2 separate regions of the Homo sapiens genome follow, and region 2 is linked to region 1. The links are contacts of gene promoters, found by promoter capture Hi-C in human tissues and cell types (Jung and others, 2019). All regions are on one chromosome and are shown on one strand. The core of a region is centred on a gene start or on the middle of the fragment in contact, and the rest is flanking DNA. Distances in the headings are between cores, read along the strand shown. Region 1 holds the start of RNF139 (ring finger protein 139). Region 2 has its middle 95 kb from the start of FER1L6-AS2.

The links. The method cuts DNA at HindIII sites, captures the fragments that hold promoters and counts their contacts. A contact is called where the count stands out against the background at its distance.
Region 2: a fragment that was not itself captured here is called in contact with the fragment with the promoter of RNF139 in region 1 in 1 of the 25 tissues and cell types used here (mesenchymal stem cells).

The regions. Positions count from the first base shown.
Region 1 is chr8:124,473,334-124,476,427 of GRCh38, reverse strand. RNF139 (ring finger protein 139) reads right to left here and starts at 1,548. Exons shown (of 2, transcript NM_007218.4): 1 at 1,138-1,548. The coding sequence starts at 1,318. RNF139-DT (RNF139 divergent transcript) reads left to right here and starts at 1,865. Exons shown (of 2, transcript NR_108047.1): 1 at 1,865-2,343. RefSeq lists enhancers at 549-1,092, 1,093-1,638, 1,601-1,930, 1,639-2,183, 2,271-2,460 and a silencer at 1,271-1,580. The HindIII fragment of the contact is 10,823 bases long and covers 1-3,094 here.
Region 2 is chr8:124,264,987-124,267,777 of GRCh38, reverse strand. No RefSeq gene overlaps it. Among named protein-coding and RNA genes, the nearest start is that of FER1L6-AS2, 95 kb to the right of the region's middle. The HindIII fragment of the contact is 3,784 bases long and covers 1-2,791 here.

The DNA of each region.
Region 1 (3,094 bases), core at 299-2,798:
GAGCAAAACACTTAACCTCTATGACCCTGTTTCCTGGTTTGTAAAATGACAATACCACCACCCACCTCTGGGGGATGTTTGAAGGTTAGGTTAGATAATACCTACCAGTGAAAATGCTTTGCAAAAGGAAAATACCAGATAAATGTAAAATATGGCTATTTATTGCTAAGAACAAAATTCGGCCTTTATTGCCACTCCTCTTTTGAAGGAATAAAGCAACAGATGGCTTGTAATTCAGAAAGGCTTGGTAAAGACCTCACCATCAGTCTGCCCTCAGCAACACTTCAAAAGCACTAGCCTACTTAAGACCGATCACCAGAATTACCTCATCAACAAAATTTGCCAAGTTACAATTACTTAAAAAATTATTTTACGCATAAATGCATCTCCCTCTGATGATGTAAGTGAAGATGGAAAGGAAGAAATGAAATATAAGATACTTTTAACACTCCATCCATACGAAACAAAGACAATGATTTTCAGAAGTCTCTTTGGCAAATGTCTCATCACTTTTTACAGTCACTTTCAATACCTTCTCGTTTATTCATGGAAAATTTTAGGACTCGATTTAAGCATCGCCGCTTTCATGAGAATTTTTGGTAATGGTTTCAAGGTCTGACATTCAAAACCCTGTCTCCTTCGCTTGGATGTCATTTACTGCAGACACTTCACGATCCTGTGGACCCTCGGGTGCAGCAGAAGTGACAACATACAAGTACTCGGCATTTGGTAATAAAGGGAAACTGAGGCCCACGCCTTGGCAGAAGTCCAAGGTCACACACGACGAGACTGGGATAGCAGAGTTGTTTTTCGAAGGCTGTCGCATAGGACGCGGTAAGCCAGTACTCATTTCCCAAGGCAAACGGGCAAAGAGCTGCATGCTCACACATCCTTACTTTCTCCCCACCTCACTCAGGTACAACACTGAATCCTCGCTAGGGGGACTGCTCCGCTGTCAACTCAGACAAGTATCATCTCCTTCCCCCTCCCAACCCGTAAAGACGACCCTTTGAGGGATGAAACTGTAGTTCCCAAAGACACATACTCGACCCATGGCCTCTGCGCGCCTGCCCGCTCCCCGGGGAACGTCTCGGCCCGCATAGCCGTCCCGGGACGTACGGTACCCTGTTCCCTTACCAAAGAGCCGGAGGAAGATCTGGAGCACGATGCAGAACCGGCTTTGGCTGGAATCCGGGTAGGAGTTGAAGATGGCGTCGATGATGTAAAGGCAGGGCACCCGGAGCGCCACTTCGAGCGCCGCCCAGACCTGCTGATGGGCCATCCGCACCTGCTGCTGCGGGGGCCCCACGGCCGCCATGAGCCGCTGCCACACCAGGGCTCGGTGGGCCGGGCAGGGCCGCGCGGGGCAGGGCCCGGGGCCGCGGCCGGGGGCGGGGGCTAAGGCGGGCAACTCCGCCCCTGCCCTCCTTCCTCTCCTGTCTCTCTCACGGCCAGCCCCGCCGCCCGCTCGCGTCCCTCGAGGTGGAGCAGGCGGCGGAGGCAGCGATGGCCGAGAGGGCGGCGGCGGCGGCTCCCCAGGAGGTCTCTGGGTTTCGGTGTTTCCGGCTGGCTAAGGTCTGACTCCTCCTCCCTCCACTGCCTCCCCCGCCCGCGGAGCCACCATCTTGACCTCGCCCGCTGGCCTCTGCCGTTGCTGCTGTGGCTAGGCCCGGAGGCTGCGCCGTCAGTCAAGCGAACCGCAGAGTCCGCGCCCACTGCCTGCGTCATAATCCAGCGTCATAATCCAGCGCTAGAGACGCTCCCCATGTCGTCATCACCCATGGTTGCCATGGTTTCCGCCCACCTCCTCAGCTTACTCTAGCTTCGTGCCACCCCGTGGCGCATGCGCTTTTCGGTAGCCGCGCTTTCCGGCGTTGGAGTTGCAGCTTCACCCTCGCAGATTCGGCTTAGCGAGCGAGTCGGTGCTTCCGCGGATCAAAATTATTAGCCGTTTTATTAGAGCCCATTAAACGTTGCATAAACATGGTTCAGAGCTGCCTGGGAGAAGAAAAGCCAAAGGATGCCACCCTCTCGATTTATCCCACCCTCGGGAGTCTGAAAGCCGACGCCAGGAGAAATCCCGCGAAGGCCGCCCGGGATCCTGGTAGAGGCGACGCTGTGTGCGTTTATGGAGCGCTTGCGGTGCGTGGCACTAGGCTGGGTGTGGTGGGTGCTGCCGAAAAAAGGGTTCCTCCCATCCATTTGCACGTCACCCTTCCCACCTCCTGCCCAGATGGACAGAAGTGAGGACATTCATCGGCCGCATTTTACTAATGGCAAGGAGATAGCGACTGAAGGGCAAGAACCTAGGGTTTCCTGTCTTTGATATTTCTCATCTTTGAGGTAAGTACACCTGGACAGTCCCTTCCTTCCTCCTCAGGGCTCATGCTTTCTTGCCTATCCGTGTAATTAATATGATCTGGCTATCTTTGTCTTTGTTCCGAAACTTCAGCTGCAAATGAAAGTGTAAGTTAGGTCTGAGTCTGCACTATAGACCTAGCTATCCTAGGTTAAAGGGGATAAAATAGGAATCAAGAAGCCTGGCCCGCTTGGGCTCCCAGCTCAAGTGCATTCTGCAATCCAGTTTATATTAGGCCTCCATGTGGGTGGCTATCCTTTATCAAGATCCCCCCCAGGGGGAGGAGGATTATTAGTCACATTATCAAACTCCCCTCCAACCCCTTTCTCTGCTTAGAGGTATGTGTAATGTGTAGTAGAAAGACCGAATCCCCACCCAAAAGTCCTTACTGCTACTCATGTTTTTAACCTTCTGTTCTTTACCCTACTCCCTAATAATGACCGCCATCATTTATCTACTGCTTAATGGATACTAGGCACTGTGCTAAGGGTTTTATGTTTTACTTCAATCTTTTCATCGGCTTTATTTTGATAGTTTGTTTTATAGAGGAGGAAACAGACTTAGGTAAGTTACAAGATGACAAGGTTACTACCTTGTTCAGTTAGTAGTCAGCAGCTAGTATATCCAAAGATAGTACGAGTCAGAACTAGGATTATAAACTCAGGGCTACCTGAAACTCACAACTTCAGGCATCTTTGATTTCTTCTTTTCACCCACAGCCAATTCTTCAACTAA
Region 2 (2,791 bases), core at 96-2,595, 210 kb after region 1:
GTTCAAGTGATTCTCCTGCCTTGGCCTCCTGAGTTGCTGGAGTTACAAGGCGTATGCCACCACATCAGGCTAATTTTTATATTTTTAGTAGAGACGGGGTTTCACCACATTGGCCAGGCTGGTCTTGAACTCCTGGCCTCAGGTGATCCACCTGCCTTGGCCTCCCAAAGTGCTGGGATTACAGGTGTGAGCCACTGCGCCCGGCCTGCGAATGGTTTCTTAAAGTAAACAAAATTAGAAAAAGGAAAATGAAGGTGGCCCTGTACCAGAGAAGAAAAATATAATTCACAAGAACAACAAACATAGGGAACGGAGAACAAAGCTGATTTTTATTTTTGTTGTTCTGTTTTACTAAATGATTCTTCTGTGTCAGTGCTGTGCTATAAATATAGGCTAATTTCCATTTCCTCCTGCAAGCATTGGACAGATTTTACCCTCGTCTTGTCATGAGTCAGAAAGGAAGGATATTTACTATGTACTGACTGTGTGAAATAGTCAGCTGGGGTGTTGGAGTCACCTGACTAGGTCTTCCTCCCAGAATCCAGCGTCATTTCCACTTTCCTCTCACCCATTGGCTGAACTGAATTAGAAGGCAGAGGAACATGGGTGATGCAGAGCTCAGAGGCCAGCCTCCTTGGGCATAGAGGAGGTGGAGAGGGTGCAGAGGGAATCTGGAGGCTGGGTCTGCAGGGGCAGATGGAGGCTGTCTACCACAGCCCCCATGCTGAGAGCTGGGAGGGGCACGATGATCAGGGCCATCCGACAAGATGCTTAACCTGGCTTTGTACTTGGCTCATTGCTCCTGCAGATGAAGACTGGGGCTCCTCAGCAAGCCTGGGTCCTACCATAGAATGTCCCCGGGATCTTTCCAAAGCTGAAAAGTTAACCGCCGGGAGAAGGCATCTGATAGAGTGGGTCTCTTGCCTCCTAGTGGACTGACTAGGAGCCAGGAGATGTGGGATCCAGTGCAGATTCTTCCATGTGGAGTGTGTGACTGTGGGGGCAGGCCCCCTTTCTGGGCCTGATTCCTCTTTTGTGAATTTGTAGATTTAACCTAATCCAGAGGCCTCAGCCCTCCTTGTGTGTCTGAATCCCCCAGGAAACTTTAAAAACTATCAGCCTGCCCAAGCCTCACCTCCAGAGCTGCCATTTCTCTTGGCCGAGAGAGCCTGGGCACTGGTATTTTTATAAACACACCCAGGCGCGTCTCATATTGGGCTGGGATAGTGAATCTGGACTAGACCACCACATCAGTTCTGGAATTCCACTTCCAGGGGTTAAGTTCTCCTCTTTTTTCTTCCTTTCTTTCCTTTTTTTTTTTTTTTTTGAGACAAGATCTCGCTTTCTCACCCAGGCTGGAGTGCAATGGTATGATCATGGCTCACTGCAGCCTTGACCTCCCAGGCTCATGTGATGGTCCTCCCACCTCAGCCTCCCAAGTAGCTGGGACTACAGGCATGTGCCACAATGCCTGGTTAATTTTTTGTAGAGACAGATTCTCGCCATGTAGCCCAGGCTGGTCTCAAGCTTCTGGACTCAACTGATCCGCCCACCTTGGCCTCCCAAAGTTCTGGGATTACAGGTGTGAGCCACTATGACCAGCCCAGCTCTTTACTTCTCCATGGCAATAGCACAGAAGGAAATAAGCACTCTATTGAGGCTCAGCTGGCACATTTGTGATAATCATTTAGTCCTCACAACAGTTTCTAGGTTGTCATAGTTATTACACCCATTTTTATAGTTGAAGTAATTGAAGTCAGAAAGTTTTGCCATATTTTCATCAATATTTACTGAGCTCTACAGCATGTCAGTTACTATTGTAGGTGCTGGGGATACACGATGAACAAAACAGACCAACTCCCTGCTCTCCAGGAGCCCACGTCCTAGCCTGGAGATGGATAATTAGTGACAGTAGGTCCCTGGTTTTCCTGGGATTATTAACACCTGTTAACCATTCTTAGCATGACCCTTCATTCCCAAAATGTCCTAATTTGGGCAATAAATTATATTTTTATTCCATAAATAATAAAAATGTGAACATGGCTGGGTACAGTGGCATGTGCCTGTAGTCCCAGCTACTCAGGAAGCTGAGGTGAGAGGAGAGGTTGGAGGAATGAGTTCTGGAGTCAGGGCTGTAGTGAGCTGTGATCATGCCTGTGAATAGCCACTGCACTCCAGCCTGGGCAACATGGTGAGACCCCATCTCCAAAAAAACAAAACAAAAAACAGCAAAAAAATGAACATCATAGATGGTGATAAAGACATCGAATAAAATGACCACAACATTGTCTTCTCTAAAAAATTCTATGACTTATATATTTCTTAAAGTCTTTAACATCAAGACACTGTGGCTGACTCAGTTGGGAGAGTGGCTGCTGGGATTGGGTGATCGCAGAACGCCTCCCTGAGGAGGTGGCATATGAATTGAGGTGTGAATGGTAAGGAGTTGCTGGCCATGCAGAAACCCGGGAGTGATGTTTAGGTGATGGGAGCAGCAACTGCAAAGGCCCTGAGGTAGGAACAACCTTGTTTGTTGTGTCTGAGAGATTAGAAGTAGTCACTGTGGCCAATACCCAGTAAGTGCCTGGAAGGTGGAAGGAGATGAGGTCCAAGAAGTCTCGAGGACTTTGTCAGCTATGAGACGGTTTGGATGTTCAGGGCAATGGGAGGCTTAAGCTGGGGAGAGCTATGATTAAATTCAGTGGTTCTCAACCAGGGGCCCCCAGGGAACATTTGGCAATGCCTGGAGACATTTTCGGCTGTCACAATTAGGAAGGGGGAAGGTGCTACT